5 separate regions of the Homo sapiens genome follow, and regions 1, 2, 4 and 5 are each linked to region 3. Evidence: promoter capture Hi-C in human tissues and cell types (Jung and others, 2019). All regions are on one chromosome and are shown on one strand. Each heading gives the region's core, a stretch centred on a gene start or on the middle of the fragment in contact. The rest is flanking DNA. Distances are from core to core; before and after follow the strand shown.

What was found. Contacts are between HindIII fragments. The study calls those that stand out against the background at their distance.
Region 1: a contact is called between a fragment that was not itself captured here and the fragment with the promoter of CST5 in region 3, in 1 of the 25 tissues and cell types used here (dorsolateral prefrontal cortex).
Region 2: a fragment that was not itself captured here is called in contact with the fragment with the promoter of CST5 in region 3 in 1 of the 25 tissues and cell types used here (dorsolateral prefrontal cortex).
Region 4: a fragment that was not itself captured here is called in contact with the fragment with the promoter of CST5 in region 3 in 1 of the 25 tissues and cell types used here (dorsolateral prefrontal cortex).
Region 5: a fragment that was not itself captured here is called in contact with the fragment with the promoter of CST5 in region 3 in 1 of the 25 tissues and cell types used here (dorsolateral prefrontal cortex).

The regions. Positions count from the first base shown.
Region 1 is chr20:25,162,021-25,165,096 of GRCh38, forward strand. It overlaps the pseudogene NIPAL1P1. Among named protein-coding and RNA genes, the nearest start is that of ENTPD6, 32 kb to the right of the region's middle. The HindIII fragment of the contact is 4,276 bases long and covers 1-3,076 here.
Region 2 is chr20:24,986,267-24,989,395 of GRCh38, forward strand. The region is part of intron 1 of APMAP (adipocyte plasma membrane associated protein); the gene reads right to left. Among named protein-coding and RNA genes, the nearest start is that of APMAP, 4.9 kb to the right of the region's middle. The HindIII fragment of the contact is 6,757 bases long and covers 1-3,129 here.
Region 3 is chr20:23,878,248-23,881,121 of GRCh38, forward strand. CST5 (cystatin D) reads right to left here and starts at 1,501. Exons shown (of 3, transcript NM_001900.5): 1 at 1,199-1,501. The coding sequence starts at 1,429. RefSeq lists an enhancer at 994-1,823. The HindIII fragment of the contact is 5,935 bases long and covers 1-2,874 here.
Region 4 is chr20:25,186,358-25,189,491 of GRCh38, forward strand. It overlaps LOC101926889 (a long non-coding RNA gene), which reads right to left. Exons shown (of 6, transcript NR_109994.1): 3 at 1,496-1,590; 4 at 540-622; 5 at 185-342. Among named protein-coding and RNA genes, the nearest start is that of ENTPD6, 7.8 kb to the right of the region's middle. The HindIII fragment of the contact is 6,552 bases long and covers 1-3,134 here.
Region 5 is chr20:24,956,506-24,959,446 of GRCh38, forward strand. CST7 (cystatin F) reads left to right here. Exons shown (of 4, transcript NM_003650.4): 2 at 782-954; 3 at 2,423-2,539. Among named protein-coding and RNA genes, the nearest start is that of CST7, 8.7 kb to the left of the region's middle. The HindIII fragment of the contact is 6,257 bases long and covers 1-2,941 here.

The DNA of each region.
Region 1 (3,076 bases), core at 147-2,646, 1.3 Mb after region 3:
AGTTGCAAAAGACCCTTCTTTTTCAATATGAAGCTGGAGCCATATCCTTCTCGGCAGGGCTCTCTGTGCCACAGCCTCACATGTGCCCCCATGTCCCCAGACGGGGCTCCAGGATGCAGACGCTCTTTCCTCAGCCACCTGGGCCTCTCCTCCCCATGGACCTGCCAGATTGTTGTTAATTCTTTTTTTAAAGAAAACCACTCTATTGAGGTAAAATGAACATACAAAAAGCTGTATATATTTAATGTATACATTTCGATAAGTTTGGGGATACGTATGTACCTGTGAAATCATCACCACCATCAAGGCCATAAACACATCCATCACCTCCCAAAGTTTTCTCCCACCCCTTTATTATTATTATTATTATTATTATTATTATTATTATTATTATTGAGACAGTCTTGCTCTGTCACACACGCTGGAGTGCAGTGGCACGATCATGGCTCACTGCAACCTCTGCCTCCCAGGCTCAAGTGATCCTCCCACAGCAGCCTCCTGAGCAGCTGGGATCACAGGCACAGGCCACTATGCCCAGCTAATTTTTGTATTTTTAGTAGAGACACGGTTTCACCATGTTGGCCAGGATGGTCTCAAACTCCTGACCTCAAGTGATCCACCTACCTTGGCCTCCCAAAGTGCTGGGATTACAGCTGTGAACCACTGCACCCAGCCCCTTTATTATTTGTATTTGGATTTTGTTTTCATCACTGTTTTGATAATAACACTTACCATAAGATCAACTTGCCTTAGTAAATTTTAGGTATACAATGCAGTATTGTTACCTATAGGCATCATGCCACACAAATCTCCAGAGCTCATTCATCCTGGATAACTGAAGCTTCGTACCTTCTGATCATCATCTCCTCATTTCCCCCTCCCCACAGCCCATGAAAACCACCATTCTACTCTCTGCTTTTGAGTTTGATTATTTTAGAGTCCACATTGCTATGGTTTGAATGATGGCATCCCCTCCAAAATTTATGTTGAAGCCATCCCCAGTGCAGTAGTATTAAGAGGTATGGTCTTTGGGATGTGATTAAGTCATGAGGGCTCTACTTTTATGGATGGGATTAGCACCCTTATTAAAAGGCTCAAGGTCAAAAGGAGTGCTCTTTCACCCTTCTATCTTCCTCCATGTGAGGACACATGCATCCCTCTGGAGGAAGCAGCAACAAGACACCATCTTGGAAGCAGGGAGCAGCCTTCATCAGACACCAATGCTAGTGTCTTGATCTTGGACTTCCCAGCCTCCAGAAACATAAGAAATAAATTTTTGTTGCTTATAAGTTACCCAGTCCCAGATATTTTGTTATAGCAGCACAAATGGACTAAGATACATCCATAAATGAGATCCTGCCGCATTTGTCTTTCTGTGCCTGGCTTACTTTGCTTAACATAATGTCCTCTGGGTCAATCTATGTTGTCACAAATGGCAGGATTTCCTTCTTTTTAAGGACTAAATAATATTCCTTTGCATGTGTATACTATAATTTCTTTTTATTAAGTGAAATCAAGTCTATTAAGGAAGTAAAGGAATATAAGAATGGCTACTCCATAGGCAGAGCAGCCCTGAGGCTGCTGGTTGGCTGTTTTTATGGTTATTTCCTGATTATAGGCTAAACAAGGGATGGATTATTCATGAGTTTTTGAGGAAAGGGGTGGGCAATTACCAGAACTGAGGGTTCCTCCCGTTTTTAGACCATATAGGGAAACTTCCTGACATTGTCATGGCATTTATAAACTGTTGTGGTGTTGGTGGGATGTCTCTTAGCATGCTAACACATTATAATTAGTGTATAATGAGCCAGAGGTCACTTTCATTGCCCTCTTGGTTTTGGTAGGTTTTGGCCAGCTTCTTTACTGCACTCTTTTATCAGCAAAGTTTTTGTAACCTGTATCTTGTGCCAACCCCCTATCTCATCCTGTGACTTAGAATGCCCCACCTCCTGGGAATGCAGCTCCATGGGTCTCAGCCTTATTTTACCCAACCCCTATTCAAGATTGAGTTGCTCTGGTTCAAACACCTCTGGCATATTTCCCCCCTCCCTTTTACAAGGGAACCTTTAATCCTAAAGGCTGTAAGCAGATGAAGATCTATCTTCTTTAACTTCTTCAGGCTGAATAGGGGCAATGATATTCCTGCCTAACTATTAGGGCATCTCATACCCAGGGTAGAGAGGAGCTGAGTCAGAAAGCATCGGTATGGTGAAAAACAGTTCAAAAACAACTGATAAGACTAGAATCTGATAACAAGTGTACCACAGTTTTTGAAACATAATTTTTCTCTCCCCTGTCTCACATTTTTACTAAAGACAAATCATGGTAGAATGAATTTGTTTGCAAAAATAAGCTTTAGTCTTATACTTGGCCAGATTATTTGTAAAGTGCAGCAAGAATAATTTTCACATAGGCTTTTTTAATTGGCTTTGATGGAACATTGTTCCATAAAATGAATCTCAGATAAGACTTTTTACGAAGCCAAGCGCAGCCTTGAGTTTGTACCCTCAAATACCTATAAGTTGGGAAATTCCTTTTCTCTTGTGGTCACAAGGTAATTTGGGGCTCCTGGGCCTGTTAGAAAGTGACATACTTGGCCAGGCATGGTGGCTCATGCCTGTAATCCCAGCACTTTGGGACGCCAAGGAAGGCACATCATGAGGTCAGGAGTTTGAGACCAGCCTGGCCAATATGGTGAAACCCTATCTCTACTAAAAATACAAAAATTAGTTGGGCATGGTGGTGTGCACCTGTAGTCCCAGCTACTTGGGAGGCTGAAAGAGCAGAATCGCTTGAACCTGGGAGGCAGAGGTTGCAGTGAGCTGATATTGCACCACTGCACTCCAGGCTGGGTGACAGAGTGAGACTCCATCTCAAAAAAAAAAATAGTGACATTCTTTACTTACCACAGGTTGGAAACCCTGTACAGGGACTATGCAGACAATGTATGAGGCCAATTTTCCAAGGGGCTTTTATTGGCTCTATAAGTCAATTTTGATTCTTAAAAGGAAAACATGCCATTCCAGTCAAAGCCTTGGTAAATTAAGTAGTTTCTCCAATTGCATCCTGTTACAAA
Region 2 (3,129 bases), core at 37-2,536, 1.1 Mb after region 3:
ACACCTGAGGCCAGGTAAAATGCCACATTGCCAGTCCTTACCCCTTTTATTAGGTGGGAAAGGAGGTGGTCCAGACCCTACAAACACAAACAAAATGCCACAGACACACCAGGGAGAGGCCAAGGGAGCCCAGCTCCTGGAAGAGGGCAGGTGAGAATGAAGGGGAAAGTCAGGTCAACCTCTCCCTCCCAGTCCTGTCTCCAAACCCCAGGACCAAATAATCTTCTTCTAATGTGACTGACTTATACCAGTCATGGGTATAAGCACCACAGGCATAAAAATGTCTACAAAGCACAGAACTACGACCTGACATGACGGCAGGCTCATGCAACCTGAGAGGTCTGCAGCAGGGAAAGGAGTAAGGGCCAGGAAAAGAGGAATGGCAAACAGTCCAAATGAGAGTATGCCAAGAAATGTGCTTTACGTGGGCAACCAGATGGAACCAGGTATCTCTCTCCTTCACAAATGAGGGAAGTGGGCAGGGAAAGGCTCAAGTGGCTTTCCCACAGCCAATGCAAGAGCTGGAAAAGCGCAACTGAGAGCCAGATGTGACTCTATGGCTGCGGTCACCATTAGAAGCGCTGCCTGCCAAGAGCAAGAGGAGGGAGTGGAGGATGCCCAGACCTAGAGCCCTCAGAGCGGGAGTTTGAAAGCTCTGTGAAAATTCATGGTGATCTGCCTATTCTAGGCATTTCATATAAGTGGAATCATACAACAAGTGACCTTTCATGACTAGCTTCTTTCATTCAGTGTGTTTTCTAGGCCCATCTAAGTTGCAGTATGTATCTGTACATGGTTCCTTTTACCAGTTGATTATGTATGTATCTACCACAACTTGCTGCCCACTCATCTGGTTTTTTGTTTTTTAAATATAAAGACACGGTCTCAGTATGTCAACCAGGCTGGAGTACAGTGGCATGATCATATCTCACTGTTATCTCAAATTCCTGGGCTCAAGTGATCCTCCTGTCTCAGCCTCCCAAAGTAGCTAGGACTACAGGTGTGCACCACCACACGTGGCTAATTGTTTTACTTTCTGTAGAGAAAACATCTTGCTACATTGTCCAGGCTGGTCTTGAACTTCTGGCCTCAAGCAGTCTTCCCACCTTAGCCTTCCAAAGTGCACCCTGAGATGAGCAGGCATGAGCAACCATGTCTAGCCCCACTCATCTGCTGAACATTTGTGTGGGAGGGGGAAATGGGAGTGATTACTTAATCAGTACAAGGTAAACACCTTGCTTTTATGGGGTGATGAAACAGTTTTGAAAGCAGAGAGAGTTGGTGGTTGCCCAACATTGTGAATACACTAAATATCACTGAACTGTGCACTTTAAAGTGGTTAATTGTATGTTATGCGAATTTCACCTCAACTAAAAAAAAAAGTTGACAGTGACAAGAATGTTCTAAACTTGGATTGCGGTAATTACTGCAAAACTGGCCATTATACTAAAAATCACTGATTTGAACATTTTAAGTAGGTTAATTTTATGGTATGTGAATTACATCTCAATAAAGATGTTAAAAAAAAACAAAAACAAAACAAAGTCAGTGACTCCACCATGCAAACTGCCACTCCAATGGCTAGGACACCCTTCAACCCAAGTGATTTTCTTTAAGTGACCTAAAGTCTTCCAACACAATAGAAATGAAGTACTTGTACAATAAAGCAGGGCTGGTTACAAGTAAATGACAGAAACGCTTCTGACAGTGTGAACCCCAAAGAGAGACAAAGCATATGGAAAGGTGGATGGTGAAGATGTGTGGCTGCCAGCCCTGAGAGCTGCCCTCACTGCACTCTGGTACTGAGTCCAACAGGGACTGCCTGCCTTAAAGGAAGCTGATGCCATCACCCACCCCACTCCCAGGAGAGAAGAGTCCCTCTAGGGAAGGTACATTGTGTTTTCACCTCATGACCTTCATTATAAACAGTAACAATCTTGCCAAAACGCTACTTTTTCCTTGCCTAACATCATTCTACCTAAGGCAGATTTTCCTCATCTGTCTTGACTCCAACATTGTGACCTCTACTTTACCACACTGCAGCTTATATTTTTAAAATCTTGATGTGGTAATCTGATTCAGAGCTGGTGGCACCCCATTTAAATACCTGGTTGCCCCTTCACACAATAGTTAGAGGCTCAATTATGTCCCAAACAAAAAGTCCAGCCAGGACTGAAAGCCACGGGGCTTACAGCCAGAAAGGAGGCCAAAAGTCCATTGACAAAGATTTGTGTCCCAATGCTGCGGGATCTACCATACCAGTAACACTCTCCTAAAGCTGGAGAAGAATTTAGAGGCCACTCAGTCTACTGTTCCCAAAGGCAGCCAACTCCTGGATGGGCTACATCAAGATGACCTGGGCCAGAGATTCTGCTTTGGTAGGTACAGGGTGGGCCTGCGAACTCTTTCATCGGTTGTTCCTCATGTGCAGCTGGACACCACTAACTCTATGCAGCTCCCTTCCCAGTCAGACTTCACCAACACCTCCTCAACCTCACCTGATCAGCATCCAGCCTCCACTGGAAAGTTCTGTGGTCACGTATTAGAAATACTAGCTTAAATTTAAACAAAACTCCTTGAGCTGCACTGTCCAATAGAACTTTCTGCAACGATGGAAATACAATAGCTACTAGCCATGTGTGGTTCCTGAGCACTTGAAATGGAGTTAGCTTGTTATATAAATGAGGTAAGCACAGCTCCTGGACCCCTGCTCTGGGTGCCACACTTATTTTAGCCCAAGGTCCATTAACTTTTCGGCAGGCCCTCATCAGTGTTGCTTCCTGTAAACTCACAGTTAACCACAATTCTTCTGTCTTTTCTCGGTGTCTGCCTCCCTCTTACTCTTTTTTTAACTTAAATAAAGAACACTGTATCGATCCCTATCCATTTTCACTGACAAAGCATTGCAGGTTCCCAACCTGTGCTGACACATCCAGGAACGCTGGCAACTTAGTTCCCAGGCGCAGTTTGAGAAATCAGTTTGTTTGCCCCAATCTCTCGGAAGAGCCTGGAGGGATGCCCATCTCCATGAGGACATCTGCACCCTGAAATTGCCTACACTCTCTGAAGGCAAGAGCACAACCACAGTGATGCAACAGGATTTGACAACTGCTGTTGGCTGGGCCATGA
Region 3 (2,874 bases), core at 251-2,750:
ATTGCCTCCTGCATGCCTCCATTCCAGGTGTGATTTTCAAGGCAATATTTCTAAAGTGAGTCACACACCTGCATGTCTTAGGGTTGCAACTTCAGAAGAGAACTGAATGCTTTCCCTGCACAGTGCCGCCCCAAAACATGACTTGTCAGAACTGTGGAGAAGCATGGGATGAGGGACCCTGGGACCAGGGTGCTAGACCTTGCCCTGTGGAACCACACACAAGTCCTGTAGAACCACATGGAAGTCCTGTGATCCCTCCGGTGTCAGTCTGCTGCTCTGTAAAATAGGCTCCAGGGCCCAACGATCTACATCATTCTGTGCTTCACTCCCAGTGAGTGACACACTTAAGAGGGAGTGCAGGCCAGCAGGGACCACAGCACCAGGGAATGCCCCTCCTGTGCAGGGAGAGGGCTGCAGGAGGAGAAACAGGGCTGGTCTGGACTCCTCTGACTTTCCAAGAGAAGGTGGAGGAGCTCTAAAGGCTGGCAGGCCATATAGCCCTGTGGTCGCTGTGTCACTGCTGCTCTGCCATGGGACGTAGGTCAAGCTGGGCTCGGTAGCCCTGCTGAAGCTTCCTCCCTCTGGACCCAACCACCTCCTTCACTCTGCTGGGTGATTGCTGTCCTCATTTTGCTGAGGTCTAACTCTGCGTTAGCTGGCAGAGGCAGGGTCAGGCATGCTCTACCCCAGCAGGAACTCAGCTGTCCTGGGCTGTAGGGGGTGGTCAGCCAGCCTGAGAGTGAAGGCCACTAGCCATAACGGGCTGTGCCCAGGGGCGTGACTTGGGAGGGAAGCGGGGCTATCCAGGACAAGGAGTCAGGTTCCCGTGTGGCCCCTGTGGAGAGGACTCAGGGAGGAAGATGAACCTCGTGGCCTGGATCTCATCCTGAGCAGCATCAAGCCCACCCAGAGTCAGCACAGTCTCCATCCACACCTGCTGGACCCTGGGAAATGCCACAGTCATGGTACAGACACAGTGGCTGCTGCAGGTTAAAAGAGGCCGAGGGGACAGGACAGGGCTGAACTCATGCACTCACGGCCAAGGAGTGTCCTAGGGCATGAAGACCATCAGCAGACAGTCAGAGAAAGCTGAATGAGTCTGCGGTTTAGATAATGTTGATTTGCTGGGAGTGCTCTGGGGGGTGAGGCAAAAAACCCAGCTGGGACTCAGGACCCCCAGGGTGGTGGTAGCACGCACCTGCTGGTAGGCAGCCATCACCTGCAGAGGGCGGCTGTAGTACTCATCCTTATTAATGACCTTGTTGTACTCGCTGATGGCAAAGTCCAGGGCACACTGCACACTCTTGTCATTGAGGTCTGTGGCATGGATGCCACCTGCCAAGGTCCTAGATTGGGCCGAGGCACTCCCGGCCACGGCCACCATCAAGGCAGTCAGCAGCAGCAGTGGGGTGTGCATGGGCCACATCATGTTCTACTGGGACACAGAGCAAGGAGCTGGATCTCCCAGAGAGCAAAGCAGCAGAAGGCTGAGGCAGGAAGCCCAGGCCAGAAGCTAGCTGTGCATTTATCCTACTTGGGTGTCCCCCAACCCCACCTGCTCCCTGGCCCCGCCCCTGGCTCCTCCTCCTCTTTCTACCCCTCCTCTTCTGTCTCTATCTCCCTTTCCACCCCCAACCACCTCCCTCCCTCCCTAAGTTCCCTTCGCTCCTCCCATGCCTCCTCCTCATCCTCCTCCCCACTCCTGTCCTGACCGCAACCTCCCCACAGCCCTGCCCCTCTTCCTCAGTGCTCTAAAGCTTGGCTCACTCTGGATTCCAGAGAGGTGACACCGCTCCCTGGGCTGTGAAACCTGGTGACCACCTATGTCCACAGGAAAGGGAGAAATACAGGGCTTGGCCTTCTAAAGTCTTCAGATGTCAGGGGCATCCAGGAGCACGTGGTCATGGTCTGGGAATTCCTGGGGCAGGGAGCTGTTTCAGAAGCTCCGGGATGACCTTGTCCATGCCCTCTTCTGGGGAACTTCTTTGCCAAACATAAAGTAATTAACCTTTGGGTAAAGTTCACTGGGTTCTCGTTTCATAACTCCTCATTATTCAATAAACAAACCTGTCACCAGCTTCCCCCTGCACCAAGCAGTCTGGGCAATAGAGCCGTAGACATGAACTTGCAGAGCTGCCATCCAACAGAGATGTGACAGAAACCCAGGAGCAATTTAAAACACATTTGAAAAAGTTAAAAGATACAGCTGAAAGTAATTTTGGTATTTCTACTTTAACCTAATATATCCAAAATACTTCAACACTTCAGGACTATTCTTAAGGAGCTAGTTTACATTCTTTTGTGTGAGTGTAATGTCTTGAAGTTCCCTGTGTATTTTTTACAGTTAGACCAAGCGTCACTGTGGACTAGCCCCATTTCAAGTGCCCTGTGGCCACGAGTGGCTGCTGGTGGCTGTGGTACTGCATAGCCCAGCCATTAGGGTGTGTGGGAGGATGCAGAGTGGTGATCAACAATTTAGATCAGGGAATTATAGTCGCTCAGTTAGAGAGAGGGTGGGTGCTACTGGACCCTGGTCAGGGAAGTCTCTAAGAGACCGGAAAGGTTGAGAAGCCCCAGGCAGCAGGGAATAGTCAGTGCAAAGGCCCTGAGGCAAGGCTGGGCATGCCTGCTCCAGGAAGAGGAAGCTCCTGGAGGGGGTGTGAGCAGGGAAGGGAACGACCTGGAGTCTCACGGTAACTGTGGGTGTGTCCAGGTGGAAGGCGCAGGGAGACCCCTGGCAGGTGGTGGGGGTGTCAGGAGAAGGAGCAGCAGCCACAGGATGAATGTGGGAGCCCAAGAGCCTCTCTTGCTCCTCCCCTCTGGGAGACGTGCTGCCAGCACTGGTCCTCTGTACACTGCTTGGAAAACTCATGT
Region 4 (3,134 bases), core at 379-2,878, 1.3 Mb after region 3:
CTGGGAGAACCACTGCTCTCTTCAGAGCTGTCAGACAGGGATGTTTAAGTCTGCAGAAGTTTCTGCTGCCTTTTGTTCTGCTATGCCCTGCCCCCAGCAGTAGAGACTACAAAGGCAGCAGGCCTTGCTGAGCTGCAGTGGGCTCTGCCCAGTTCAAGCTTCCCCAGCCGCTTTGTTTACCTACTCAAGCTGCAGCAATGGCAGACGCCCCTTCCCCTGCTAGGCTGCTGCCTCACAGGTTGATCTCAGACTGCTGCACTAGCAGTGAGCAAGACTCCATAGGCGTGGGATCCACCGAGCCATGTGCGGGATATAATCTCCTGGTGTGCCATTTGCTAAGACCTTTGGAAAAGCACAGTATTTGGGGGAGAGTGTCCCGTTTTTCCAGGTACAGTCTGTCACGGCTTCCTTTGGCTAGGAAAGGGAAATCCCCCAACCCCTTGTTGTTCCCAGGTGAGGCAATGCCCCACCCTGCTTTGGCTCGCCCTCTGTGGGCTGCACCCACTGTCCAACCAGTCCCAATGAGAAGAACCAGGTACCTCAGTTGGAAATGCAGAAATCACCCATCTTCTGCGTGGATCATGCTGGGAGCTGCAGACTGGAGCTATTCTTATCTGGCCATCTTGGAATGGAGAGAGCAAAAATATTTCTAAATAACACATGGACAGAGAAACACTGTAATAGTGGACTTTAGAAAATGTTCCAAACTGACAATTACAAAAATACAATACAGCCAAATGTGTGGGACAGAGCTACAAGGGTGCTTATAGGAAATGCAAAGCTCTAACTGCATTTCTTATAAGATAGGCTGAAAGTTGACTTCGAGTAAGACAGCAGCACATAGCTCCCACTGGGCAGCCTGGCTTGGGGCTCCCTAGTAGGGATGGTTTTTGAGGGGGACCTTGTCATAGTTCTGGGGTCATGTGGAGGACACTCTGGTGTTACTGTTTCCAGTGCACCAAGGGTGAGTGTCTTCTGGTTACCTAGCTACCTTGGCCCAAGCATTCTGGAGCCTGGGAGACTGGGAGCCAGGAGATAGGTGGGAGGAGGGGCAGGCCCCAGGTAATAGGAGAGCAGGGCTAAGGAACAAAGATAGCCAGCCTGAGGCAGCTCCCTCAGCCTCTGTGCTGAGAAATCTCGTACTCCACTTCTCCGCCCTGAGAAAGCTTGCTGTCTGGAATCCTGTCGCCTGCAGATGCTCAGCCATGCAGGCCACTCCACACAGAGAAGCAGCCTGGAGCTCTCACCTTGGCTCACAGCCTCAGATAAGGGGCTTCCAGATACAACATGGTGCATTTGTCTTGAGCTCGGGCCCCCAAGTCAGCCTCTCAGCCCAGTGTGATGTGTCACCCTGTGACCCACAGCCCTGCTTTCAGCCTGTCAGAAACGGCTTCATTTTAAACTTCACCTGAACTCCTCCCTTCTCCGCAATCCTGTCTATCCCATGCTGAAGGCAGGAGGCCTCTGATGTGGCTTCCTCGCTGCAGTTACTAACCCTCACTTTGTCGTGGACAGCTGTGCCCTGGCGCCATTCACTGAAGGGGCTTTATCAGTCTTCAGAAACACCCTTCCTGAGCGTGAGGTGCTGGGCTGTAAAATATACATACATTCTTTAAAAAGGCAAATGCTTGATGATACAGTGCTATTTGGACTTCATTTTTTTGAACCTTTGCAATGCCCTTTCTCAACAAAACAAAACAAAATTTGACTTGGATTCTTAGATAATGGAATTGGCTGCAGGAAGCATTTGTTTTATCACCCCTTGAATGTTAACAATAACCCTGAGAGAGCTATCTGTACTGAGCATGAAGGAAATAATATATACAGTGGTCCATTTCCAAGACAAAGTGCCTTGAATTGGTTTAGGTCAGCAAACTACAGAAGAAACAGGATACACTAGGCCCCTGCTTGGATAGCCAATGCCTGCTTGTCGCCTCCCCACCCTCCACCCTACCCCACTGCCTTAGTTGCCCTCACCCAAACCAAAGGAGTTTAGTCTAAGATGAAAGTTTACTAGCTTGCAAAATAGCTCACTTTGTCTGTTCTTATCAGCCTGCCCAGATACTTAGGTCATAAGTCAAGTACTTGAAGAGCCCTTGAGCTAACTAGGATTGCAATGTATTATGGCTGCAACAAAATGCAGCAGAACAATCCTAAAGAAAATGCCTAAAACCCCTACCCAACAACCAATAGGCAATGTCCAGGAAGACTGTGACCCCATAGTACTCAGCCTATGAGGAACCAAGGGAGGGACCTGCACACTAGGGGATAAATTGCTTTTGAAACTGTACTGGGTGTGCCTGCCCATCAGACACCCGATCTTGCAAGATTGTCATTAAAGTCTCGCTTCCACTGTTCTCTGGGTCTCTGAGCCCAAACTTTGGGTTTGGACCAGTGAGTTTGTTTCTCACAGCATGACCTACTCTCCACCATGATGTGCAGCATTGCAGTGAGCAGAGAACAGCCTCCCTTCCCACTCACCCACCTGCCTCTTGGTTAGACATAAGTTCTCTTGTAACTTCTTTTGCTTCATTTATTTTAAATAAGAATAATAAAGTTTTAGTCTTTAATTTAAAAAAAGAAGATAGGCTAAAAATTAATATGTGTTCAGCTTAAACTAGAAAATTTTAAAAAACAACACACTCTAAGTACAAAGAAAGAAATAATAAAGATGAAATAAATTTAAAAATATTAAACAAAGATACAGAGGAGTTCCACAAAGCCAAAAGTTAGCTCTTGGGGAAGAGAAGTAATAAAACTTAGGCATTTCTGGAGATGCTGACCAAGAAAAAAAGGAAAATTTACAAATTAATTATTATGAGTGAAATGGAGGCTATCGCTGCAAATGCTAAGAAGATGTGAATAATGTTATACCAGTAACACTGAAAACTTAGGTGAAATGTGATGATTCCTTTAGAAAGATGCCAAAACTGCCTGCGAAAGAAGTAGAAAGCTTGATTAGAAATAGAATCAGCAGTTTAAAATATTTCACACAGAAAACAGAAATATTCCATCAAATATTCAAGAAATAGAAACTTCAAAACTTAAACCCATTTAGAAGATTTAAAGGCAGAAAATCTCCAACTCATTCTGTAAGGCTAATTTAATCTTGATAGTTTCTAAACAAGTACTAT
Region 5 (2,941 bases), core at 397-2,896, 1.1 Mb after region 3:
TCTTTTATCCAAATATAGCCCTCCTTGGTACAGGAAGGGCAGGCCTCCCCGACCCCAACGAAGCTTGGGGACACAGTGCACTGTCACTCATAGGAGTGAAAAAGACTGTCCCTGGAAAGTCAGGAGGCAGCGCAGGGGTACCAAGTGCTGCAGGCTGCCAGGAGGGGTGCCCTCCTGGGGGCTGGGCCTGAGACTGAGAGCCAGGCGGGCAAAAGGTCTTGAGACGAGGACGGCGCCATCTCCTTCCGGTGGGAGGCACTACCTCCATCTACCGCCCAGAGGGCCAGGCTGGGGTTGACTTTCCCTACATCCTAAGGCTACATCCCGTACTGAGGATCTCACCTGTGGGACATGTTCCGCTTTTAACACTTACGTTGGAAATAACCCTGGGTTCTGAAAGTGGGGGACAGGTTCATTGCACCCCCTGGCACCTGGTCCTCAGCTCTGAAAATGGAGCAATAAATGCACTGCAGGGGTGTCGGGGGGGACAGGTGAGGGGGCAGGTGAGGGGGGCAGGTGAGGGGAGCAGGTGAGAGGGGGCAGGTGAGGGAGAACAGGTGAGGGGGCAGGTGAGGGGGGCAGGTTAGGGGTGGGTAGGGTGGGGGCAGGTAAGCAGGGACAGGTGACAGGGGTAGGTAAGAGGGGGAGCAGGTGAGGGGTGGGTAGGGCCAGGACACACACGCCAGCAGAGAACTGAGCATCACAGAGGCATGAGGCGTGACACCTGGACTGAAGGCCCCACTAACATCAGTGTTCTTGTCTGGCTCTTTGTCTCTTTCAGATACTTGTTCCCAGGACCTTAACTCACGTGTGAAGCCAGGATTTCCTAAAACAATAAAGACCAATGACCCAGGAGTCCTCCAAGCAGCCAGATACAGTGTTGAAAAGTTCAACAACTGCACGAACGACATGTTCTTGTTCAAGGAGTCCCGCATCACAAGGGCCCTAGTTCAGGTAACGGTCTGGGTTCTGGTCACATATCACGGACACCCCTAGGAAGCCGAGCTGCTACAACGCGACACCTAGGAGAGCAGGGCGGATATAATGTGAAGTCCCTGCTGAGTGCAGAGCTCTGAGCAGAAAGCAGATGCACAAGGGGTGGGAGTGGACAGCAGCAGCTGAGGCCAGCATCCCCCAGGGCCAAGCGCAAAGGTTACACAAAGCACACGGCTCCTGGGTGGTTACCAGGCCCCTGGCCCAGAGCCTACTAGGCATGGGGTAAGGAGGTGCCAGGGCCCTAATGGGGCTCCTGAGGCAGGCGCCAAGGCTGATGGGGGAGAAAGCCGCTGTCCGAGGAGCTGCCCCTGCTGGGACCAGGGTCCTCACCCGGCCTCACCCCTCACGTGCCCTGCAGCCCAGAGGTGTCTTTGCCACTTTCCCCCTGGAGTGCTCACTCACATCCCAGAGTCCAAGAGCTCTGCCCAAGCCACTGCCCTTTCCCTGACTCATTCCTACTGCGCCCGCTCAGCACCCTCCCTCCTAGAGGACCCTTGTCTGTGTCCTGAGAACACCCACTTGCTAATGTGGGATGCAGGCTGTGGATGACACCCACCACCGTGTGCTGGTGCCTGTAAGGGGCAGAAGCAGCCCTGTCCAAGGCAGTCTTCACAGTGTTCATGGTTATGCTGGGTCACAGGGAGGGGTGATTTTTATAACCTAATTATTTTTGACAATTGCAAACTTGTGAAGGACAGCATGTTTTCATATGAGAATCGTGGGTGTGTAGCCAGGGTCCTCGCTCTGCAGCCTGGCCTCAGGGACAGGGGATCTTCCCTGGGTGATGCAGGCCCTCCCTCCTTCTCCGGGTAGGCCAGTGGGATGCCCTGGTTCTGAGTCCTTGGGGTTCTCTGGGAGGGGACTTGGAGGTTGTCTCTCTCTAGCTTGGTGATATTGGGGACAACGTAATTCCCCTAAAGCTGAGACTAAAACCTGAGGAATTTTTCTTCAACTCCTCTAAGACCACAAATGAGAATGAACAAGGCGGCTGCCATATCCAAGTGGAGAAGGGCTGTCCAGAAACTCAAAACTCCCGACCCCAGGAATGGAGAGGGGAAGCCCGCAGACCCCAGGCCTGACACAGAGGCCACAAGAAACAGCCATCATGGGGCTGGAGTGAGGGCTGCAGGGCGGGCCCAGCAGGGCATGCAGGAGACCTAGTGTGACGTCCCTCCTGAGTGCAGAGCTCTGGCCAGAAAGGAGACATCTGTCTCAGGAAGGGGCACAAACCCAGCACGGGGCAGGGAGGGGAGTGGGAGGGGTCTGCAGGCTCTGCCGTAAGCCCGAAGCATTGCCCCAAGATGCTGGCCCACTTCCCTTCTCCTCGGTGGGCACCTGCACCACTGTCTTGAGGCCCTGCTTCCTAGTGGAGAAGCCTGCCCTCCCTCCCCTGTGCCCAGTAACCCAGTCCCTTTGCTCCCTCCAGATAGTGAAAGGCCTGAAATATATGCTGGAGGTGGAAATTGGCAGAACTACCTGCAAGAAAAACCAGCACCTGCGTCTGGATGACTGTGACTTCCAAACCAACCACACCTTGAAGCAGGTAAAGCAGCAGGCCCTTCTCTCAGATGTGCCCTCTCTTCCCCAGCCCACTCCCTCCCAGGACTGTGAAAAACACCGTCACCACGTCTCTAACGCAGCGCCCCAAACCTCACCCCTGAGGAAGCCAGGCCTCCCAGACTCCCGCACGACTGAGGATCCGGGAGAACAGGAGGTAGAGCCTGTGCCAGGAGCTCCTCAGATGACATCCTCCCGTCCCAGAGGCGGAGACACAGCTCTGGAAGAGCGTCCTGGGGTGCGAGTGGAGAGGGTTAGAGTAAGAAAAGCTTTCAAACAATCCAGAAATTATATATGTATCATATACATACATATGATATGTATCATATGTATATCATATATAGCATATCTCTGCAGAGAGAGCAAGAGAACGGGAACACAGCAACAT